2 separate regions of the Homo sapiens genome follow, and region 1 is linked to region 2. Evidence: promoter capture Hi-C in human tissues and cell types (Jung and others, 2019). All regions are on one chromosome and are shown on one strand. Each heading gives the region's core, a stretch centred on a gene start or on the middle of the fragment in contact. The rest is flanking DNA. Distances are from core to core; before and after follow the strand shown.

Region 1 (4,471 bases), core at 1,291-3,790, 280 kb after region 2:
ATCCACAAAACTGTTAAATGAATAGCTAATGAAAGATATGAGCTTGGGTTAGGGACAAAGGAGAAAAACAATGTTAGGAATAACTTAGAAAAAAGAGCACTTGGTTCTACATGTATTTCATAGTGTGTCATTGGTAAAGATGTCATATGTATGTTGCTACCTTGAAAACTAAAATAAATTCTGTTCACATTACAGAGACTATACGTAACATGGACCTGGAAAAGCTTAAAAATATGAAGAGGATTGAACTGGCTGCCATCTGTGCATCTTCATTTATGAAAACACTCCTCATAGACTTAAAACAAATGACAGAGAACAAATTAGTCAGCTTCTTCTAAAATACAGTGGTCTCCCCTTACCCTCAGTTTCACTTTCTGCAGTCAACTGCAGTCCGAAAATACTACATACAATTAGATATTCGGAGAGAGAGACACCACATTTACATAAATGTTATTTCAGTATACTGTTATAATTGTTCTATTTTTATTAGTTGTTGTTGTTACTGTGCCTAACTTACACATTAAACTTTATCACAGGTATGTATGTATAGGAAAAAACATAGACTATATAGGATTTGGTACTATCCACGGTTTCAGGCATCCACTGGGGGTCTTGGAACGCATCCCCCTCAGATAAGGGGGGACTACTGTAAACAGAAAATAACAACAATTCAAATTGTTAAAAACAATTCTTGAAAGTTATCCTTTACAATAGATTAATATATATGATCTGAGCTGAAAGAATGGCAAGCAATGGAGACAATATTTCTCTTCTGTTTCTAGTAGATATTTTCAATTTTAAGCATAGTTTTAAAAAGTACAACCCTCTTTTAAGGGCTTAAACCAAGGTGGCTGTGCTGATTGGCTTAGCTGGCTAGTTCACAGTGCCAAGGACAGGGTTTCAATCTCATTCTTCTCAGTTGTCCTGCCAGAGATTGTTCTTTCAGACCAGGCCAGCCATTTGACAGATGTAAGCCACTGGCCTCAAGGAACACAAGCCAGACAGTGGTGGTCAATGCAAACCTTGAGCATCACTGGAAAAATTAAGCAGGTGTCCTACTGCATTATTTCCATACATAGAAAAACCACAGAAATACATTCTATTTTTAAAGAGTTGTTTTTCAACTATTAATACCTATAAGGTTTAAAAATATTTTCAGAGAAAAAAAATTTAGCAACTAGAATTTATAATGCTACCATTTACTATCATTATTTGTCCTTCACTTCATTTGTCACCTTACCAGAGAATTCCTTGCCACTCTCATCTCCTTAATCTGCTTATTTTTCTTCTTACTACTTTCCACTAACTGATGTTATATTAAATATTTATTTATTTGGTGTCTGCCTCTCCCAACTAGAATGTGAGCTGCCTGACAGAGCAAGGCCTTAGCTTGGTGTGTGTTTCTGGTATATCTTCAGGGCCCAGAACAGGGCCTGGCACACCCACAACTGAATAAACTTTTGATGAATTCTGTCACATATTTATTACAGGAGCTTAATTCATGGATATCTTTAACAGGACATCAAAAACAGTAGATCATTTACAAGCCAAGAACATACTGCTAACTATTGAACCAGAATGTATTTGTTGTCTATAGGCAGCAGCCTATATAGCAAAAGAACTCAAGACTTTTGACATAGCCCTTCCAAGTTTCAAAGGTGTGCAACATCTTCACCATTTATTTCCATGGGATCATTCAATGTGGGTGACATTTAGACACTGAAAGCAGGGCAGTGGGACTGGCTATTCAATTCATCCTCAGTAATAAAATCTAAAATTATCAAAACCAGTGTCTTTCTCAATCAGACTATTAGAAATAAGTACCAGAGAAAAGAAACAGAATAACAATATACTTATACATTAAAGCTTTAAAAAAGCTCCACCTTATTTTTCAACTCCAACTGACACAGAAATAAACTAAAATTTAAATAGATAATGTATAGACTACACTCATACTCTCACATTCTCTCCCATTGCTGAACTTAAAAATTACTGAATTAGATTATCCGGAAGGTAAAAGGACAAATGCAATAGGAAGGATACAATAAAGAAAGGCCATGGATGAACAATGTAAATCTCTGGAAGAATTCCCAAACCTCAACCCTTTAGCACAGTGGACTACAGTACCATTTTATCCTTTTTAGATGTATATGTATTTATTTGAGGCCACGTGCAACAGAAAAATATACCTATTTACAATCATACTGCTAGTCAGTGACAGTACCAGACCTGTAACAGCGACAGTACCAGACCTGCAACTAATGTCTCTGAACTCATAGCTTTTCCTACCATATTTTGCAGTCTTTACTCTCAGAAAGAAATATGAAGAAACTGTTTTAATTTTCATGCCCTGAATCAAACTTTGCCCACTCCAGTGTGAAATGATAAGAGTACCAGTCAAGAAATCAGAAGACCTGGGTTTCATCCTGGTTCAATACTACCAACTAGTTCCATGACCTTGGGCAAGCTACTTCACCTCTCAGAGTCTCAGAAAGGGTTAGTCTGATATAATTTCCAAGCTTCAGCCATTCACAGACTACATTAATAATTTTAGCCACATTCACGCTGTTAATTTACTTGATATGTCACTTTGAATGTACAGTTTTAAAATGTAAATAACTTTAGTCCTGTCCTAAGCAAAATTTATGAAATTTATGTTAATATAATTTTTCTAATTTACATTAAAATATGTAAATGATAATGCATGCCCACTCACCATAAATTACATCTTGGAAAGCATAAAATATTTTTAAGGTCCATCATAGCTCTAAAATTCTAATATGCTAATTAAGTCTCACAGTTTTGCTATCATAAAAACAAGGGTTAAAAATTATAATCTCATCATCCTGAGTTACGTAATGAGCACCCCCACCATTTTCCACAACAGCTCCTCTATAGTCACAAAGTTGGCTATTTCCCTAATACAATGATTCCTTTACTTTTACTTTAGGGTTCTTACTTATATATAAAAATTACTCAGGCCACTGAATTAAAAACTGGAGATAATAAAAACTAAGAGAAACAGTGCAAATCACTAAATAAAAGGGATATATATGTGTATTTCTCAATTCAACAAAGGTCCAATAACTAAAATAGATTTGCTTCTGGGGATTCTAAACAAAAAGTTGACCCCCATCCCCCATCTTTCTCTTTCCCACTACTCAATTTTCATCTTCCTCAGTCTCCAAAACCTTTTTAAGAAGATACTGGAGCCTCCCTAAGAGAACTGAGTTATGTGTGAGAAACAAGACACAAGGACACGGAAGTGTCACTGGCTGGTACATACTATTTTGGTAAAAATAATTTTTTTAGGGCTCTCGAATTATCAAATTATTACTGCTTTTCATACCTGAACCAGCCAGATGCCATCTTTTGTGTCTTCCACAAGCTCATAGAAGTGCATTTCACCACTGAAATTGGTACTAGAAACCGATTCGGATGCTTCTTCTTCCTTGAGAGCAGAATAGAGCTCACCCTCCATCAAGTCACCTGAAGAAAGGAAAAGAATAACACTAATAAGGTTGCAAGAATCCTAGATTCCCAATTTCAGTAATTCTATTTTTTACACTGTTAAGAATCATGATATTGTACTTTCATTGTATTTTATAGACAAGAACTACTAGAAGAACCTGGATATACCCACTTAGGAGTCATACATTCAATAAATATGTAGTAAGAACTTCCTATGCATCAGGGAAAAGTGAACAAAATAGACAAAAATCCATCTCTTATAGAACAGGGCTTATATTTTAGTGGGGTTATCACATAATTATTAGGAACTTACCAAATTTGTACCACTCCAAAAAGGCACAACTTTCTTAATTATTTAGTTTTATGAATGACACATACAGGCTTCATATACATTTTTAAACAGTATGGCTTATATGCTTCTTACTTAAAAGATGTAGAATTGGGTTCACAGAATTTGCCATCAGCCCTGCTTAAAAGAGCAACAGGGTTTGTATGACTTGGAGGTTAGAACTTTACCTGTTAGACAGAACAAACTCCATATTCATATACAAATTTATATTATAAATTTAGAGCTTGTATCATTAAACAAAAAGGAAAGGAAAACACTAAAATCAAATTATTTTAACTTTCGCCTTAAATATTAAACAGTGAGAAACCAAGTACTGCACCATGATAGCAGCAAAACCATTCACAATAAACACTTAAATTTTAAACTGCTATACCATGACTTTTCTGCCATAAAACGTGTGATTTGAGTCATACTGGGCTGTGCGTCTTAAAGTTAAATGTGGACTTCTAGTACATTCAATGTGCCAAGTATTTTTAGGCCCAAAAGAAGGCAATAATAAATAACAGTCAAAAGAAAAAAAAATGTGTGACCAAATTATTTTCCATAAAAAAATGATGGCTTTGGCAGTTGAGACACTTCTCATCTCTAAACCAAGAGAGTTTATTTATTAGAGATCTTTTACCCTAGTTACTCCACTTCTTCCCCCTATGG
Region 2 (4,439 bases), core at 581-3,080:
CCGAGACTGTGCCACTGCACTCTCCAGCCTGGGCGACAGAGCGAGACTCGGTCTCAAAAAAAAAAAAAAAAAAAGGGCAGGGGTGAGGGAGGTGCTAATAAAACTAATGATAGTCACATGACCCAGTGCTAATAAAACTAATGATAGTCACATGACCCAGGATCAGATGCCCTCACTCCCAGCCCAGCAGGACCTACAGAGAGCCCACCAGCCAGGCCAGCTCAACTCTCCAGCCCCACCCTGAGGGCTTCCCAGAAGCCACTGGCAATATCGATCCCAGAGAGGAAACACCACCCTGAAGGCAAGACAGTGTTGGTCAGGCATGAGGCTGGGCAAGGCGTGTCAGCCACTTTCCTGTATTATTCATGTCGGCTCTGCCAGCAGAAATCTTCTAAATATTTAACATGCCACCTCAAGGTGCAGCGCAAACACCCCGCAGTCAGGAACAGCTGTGGAGAGGCCTTCACGGAATGACTTGGGGGCTGAGAGGCACAGACACTGGCTTTGGGAGGAAAGCCCTGAATGGTGGCGGGAGACAATGCTGAGATCCACTTCGGAAGGGAAAATCAGTAAAGAAGGGAAGGGAGATGGGTGGTGTTTCAAAACGTGGGGAGTGATGGTGCACAATCACTGGGGTCCAGAGCCCCGTGTTCTCAGACAAAGAAAAAGCCCGAGGTGCCTGCCACCCTCCTCCCCGCCTTAGACTCCCCACACCCATTTCAGCCCCTGCTAGCTACAGCAGGTGGCAAATCTGTTCTGACTCAGGCCAGGATGGTTAGGGAAGAACAGGGACTTGGAACAGCCACGTCTATCTCCAAAGGAGAATAAATCCACCGGGGAAGCTCTTCAAACGCCTACAGGTCCTGGGGCTTGAAGGAGAAAATCGGCCCCCACGCCCACCCCCAATGACTTCACACAGACCTCACCCTAGATGACTCTGCGCTCTCCTGCAAGGCCTGGGAGGTGTCATCGCCACCATGCGGGTGGCTGTCACTTGAAAATTTCCCGTGCATTCCTGGAGGTACCTGCCCCTGTCTCTCAATCCCCTGCAAAAGGAGTCGGAGCCGGGGGCTCCAGGCGTTTACTCCAAGATTCACATGCGTCTTCCCATGTCCCAGCTGCCTTTGCCGCTGTCGATGCAGACACCTAAAAAGGAGGATTTTTCCAACCCCACTGGGAGCCCCGCCTCTGCCTCTCCACCCGTTCCGCGCTGACCCTCCAGGCAGCGCCCCTGGTTCGTCTGCGCTGTCCTTTCCACCTGACAAAAGCTGGGGCGGCGGGGCGCGGCGCCGGGCGACCTCACATTTCTGCCAAAGGAGAGAGACGCGTGTCCGCGGTGCGCCCATTCGGGGCCTCTGCAAATCGACCGAGCTGAGGAACAAAGCGGCCAGCGCGCGGCGAGACGCAGCCCCCACGGAACCCCCGAGCGCCCCAGCCCTCGCCGTCCCGGCCCAGCCCCCCGCAAGCGGCCGCCGGCGCCGGCTGCCTCCTGGGCAGCAGCCGCGTCCTGCGCCGCCCGTCCGCCCGCAGGCGTCCTCGGCGGCTACTGTACCTGCTAAATTTAGCTGCGCCGGGTATTAATAGCCCGAGCCACTGGGACCGGGCGCTGTAGGGGCGCGCGCAGCCCGGGGCCGGGGGCGGGGAGGGAGGGGACGGAGGGGCGCGGGGGAGAAGGCCACTTACACCACCAGCCTGGAGATGATCCATGACACCATGGCGGGCAGGCGGGCGGGCGAGGCCCGGGCGGCGCGGCTCGGCTAGGCTGCGGGCGGCGCGGGCTGCTGCGGCGTTCCCGGAACGTCAGTCAGCTCACGGCAGCCGCCGCCAGACTGAGCGCGCCCGCCGCCCTGCCCGGCGTTCGCGCGTTGGCGCAGCCGCGGCACGTTCTGGCGGCGGCGGCGGCGGCCCCAGCCCCCCGGGGCTCGGCGGGCCCGCAGCGATTGGGCGGTGAGCTGGTCAGGGCACCCGCGGGCCCGCCCCGTCCCGCTCGCCCTGGCCCCCGGCTGAAGGCGGGCGCGTCCTGCGCGCTCCCCGGGGCACCGGCCCCGCCAAAGGAACCCTGCAGCGGCCCCGTTTGCAGGGCAGGGACCCGGGTGCTGCCCCACCCTCAGCGTTCCAGCGGAGAAACTGAAGTCCGAACCTGAACCTCGGGAATCTGTCTGCACCTGTCTAGGTGGGATGCTGTCATCCCTCATTCAGCTAGTGCGTTAGCCTCATAAAGGGTTTACCTGGATCCAGACCTAACCTCTTCAGTCTGTCCGTTGCTCAGCACTTTCTGCATAAGAAACAAACCTGGGCGCTTGCCTCCCTACTTAAAATTCTACAGAGTCCCTATATGATCGTGGTACCTGCCTAGAACCGTGTTGCCAAGACCATTCCCCCAAATAGTCCTCTAGCTCTTTTCCCTCCAGGCATCTTGGACTCAAATATTTGCTGTTTCTTCTTCCCTGTCAGTACACGCCACGCCTCATCGTCCTGCCTTGGTTTGATTCAGCTCCTTCTTCTAGGCTGGGCTGAAGGGCTACTTCTTCCTAGGGAAGGCCTTTCCTTGGGGGCTGCTCCGGGCCCTAGGAGGAGACTAGAAGCTGCGACTGCTTAGCACCAGTGCCCCGCTGAGCCACGTTGAACTCTTAGGCAAAAGGGAACTTGTGCACCCTATATAAACGTTTTTATGTATTTTTTAAAATACCGTATTAAATATTATGGTGGTTTTTTTTGTTGTTGTTGTTTTTTTATGAGACAGAGTCTCGCTCTGGGGTGCAGTGGCGCGATCTCGGCTCACTGCAAGCTCCGCCTCCCGGGTTCAAGCGATTCTTCTGCCTCAGCCTCATGAGTAGCTGAGATTACAGGAGTGCGCCACCACGCCCAGCTAATTTTTGTATTTTTAGTAGAGACGGGGTTTCACCATGTTGTCCAGGCTGGTCTCAAACTCCTGACCTCGTGATCCGCCCGCCTTGGCCTCCCAAAGTGCTGGGATTACAGGAGTGAGCCACCTATTATGTATTTTAGTTGCTGAATTTTATGGCACCTCTTAAATGTTGCACCCTCACTGAGCGCCTCACTCTGCTCACCCTAGTCCCGGCCGCAGATAGTACATTATTCTGTTACACTGGAAACGCTTTGTCCTCTACTCCTAGGCTCTGCTGCTGCTTTTCCCACCCTCCAATAGCTTAGGTTCTGCGTGGTGCTCCCAGCGCCCTGTCCTTTGCTGATGATGGTGTCATGTATAATTCAGTGTCAGATGTGAGAAGCGCAGGAGACAGCTTAGTACTCTCAGATGTAGCAGAATCTGTGCGTGCGTGTGCCTGATATAGTCAGAAGAAAGACTTCACGGACAACAAAGGGACTGCAGATGAGACATGCTCTCATATCTCAGGTCTCCAAAGAACCCATAAAATAGCTGTAATGTAGCAGTTTTTTCATGCTGCCTTGACCCAGTTTTGAGGCTCAGGCTGGAGGCTGGTCAGTTCCCCTTCTCCAGCAGTCTATTAACTGCATACCCCCAACCACTTCCGTTAGCAGGCTCTCACACGCGGGACACTATACACCTGTCCAGGGCTAGGCACCAAACAACTAGTTACAGCCCCTGTACTTCAGAACCCGCTGAAATTATCCAAATTAGCCTATCCTATATCTGCTTGCCTTATTTCACTCTTTCCTTCCCTCAGAAACCATGATAAAGATGTTTGTCCACAATTCCCCTCTCTCCCTCTCTCTGTGACAGACCCTGGCCCTGAGTGGACCTGCATGGTGTGCTGTGATCTCTCCAGGAAACTGTGGATATAAAAAGCTCTAAAACTCTTTCTAGCTTCTCTCTCTTGATCTGTGTCTGGCCCCACCATATCTCACTCAAGGTAAGGTTATACGGGTAAAACAATGCTCCACGGGGAAAAGCTTTCCATACTTACTAGGCAAAGAGAACACCAAAGCTAGATCAGGACAGCACCCAGCACAGAGGACCTTCCTGAGACCTCCCTTCCCCTCCATCCATACCCCTCACCTATGCTCCCTGCGTCAGAAAGGCTGTTACCCATCTTGCAGGGGGAGCAGCGGAGGGATGGACTACTGTGGTTCAAAGAGACCCTGTTGGTGGGAAAATAAAGAAGAGGTGACCACATGCTTGTTCCCTACTCCCTATAAGTGGAATTCTCAGATTTGACTATTGCACAGGACTGAGCATTTTAATTACCAAAATGAAACTATTCATGGGGTTAAAATATCTTGAGGTCTTTTCATTAGCTGAAGAGGACCAGAAAACTAGTGAGACCAACACATATTTCTCACAAGGGATGAGAAAGAACTTGTCCATAGAGCGGACTTGGATGGGTAGAGGAGGGAAAAGAAGAAAGAAAGAAAGAAAGTTGCTTTTGTACTGCATTCTGTCTCTTTCAGTGTAACTGTTACACTTATTGTATCTCTCTATCCTGGACCTGCTCTTG

Evidence for each region. Contacts are between HindIII fragments. The study calls those that stand out against the background at their distance.
Region 1: a fragment that was not itself captured here is called in contact with the fragment with the promoter of REEP1 in region 2 in 4 of the 25 tissues and cell types used here (IMR-90 fibroblasts, dorsolateral prefrontal cortex, lymphoblastoid cells and 1 more).

Annotation. Positions count from the first base shown.
Region 1 is chr2:86,616,981-86,621,451 of GRCh38, forward strand. It overlaps RNF103-CHMP3 (RNF103-CHMP3 readthrough), which reads right to left. Exons shown (of 8, transcript NM_001198954.1): 3 at 3,350-3,489. The coding sequence starts at 3,481. RNF103 (ring finger protein 103) reads right to left here. Exons shown (of 4, transcript NM_005667.4): 2 at 3,350-3,489. It overlaps CHMP3-AS1 (CHMP3 and RNF103 antisense RNA 1), which reads left to right. Exons shown (of 6, transcript NR_183901.1): 6 at 196-469. Among named protein-coding and RNA genes, the nearest start is that of RNF103, 4.6 kb to the right of the region's middle. RefSeq lists a silencer at 312-361. The HindIII fragment of the contact is 6,359 bases long and covers 1-4,471 here.
Region 2 is chr2:86,335,796-86,340,234 of GRCh38, forward strand. REEP1 (receptor accessory protein 1) reads right to left here and starts at 1,831. Exons shown (of 9, transcript NM_001371279.1): 1 at 1,684-1,831. The coding sequence starts at 1,715. The HindIII fragment of the contact is 14,274 bases long and covers 1-4,439 here.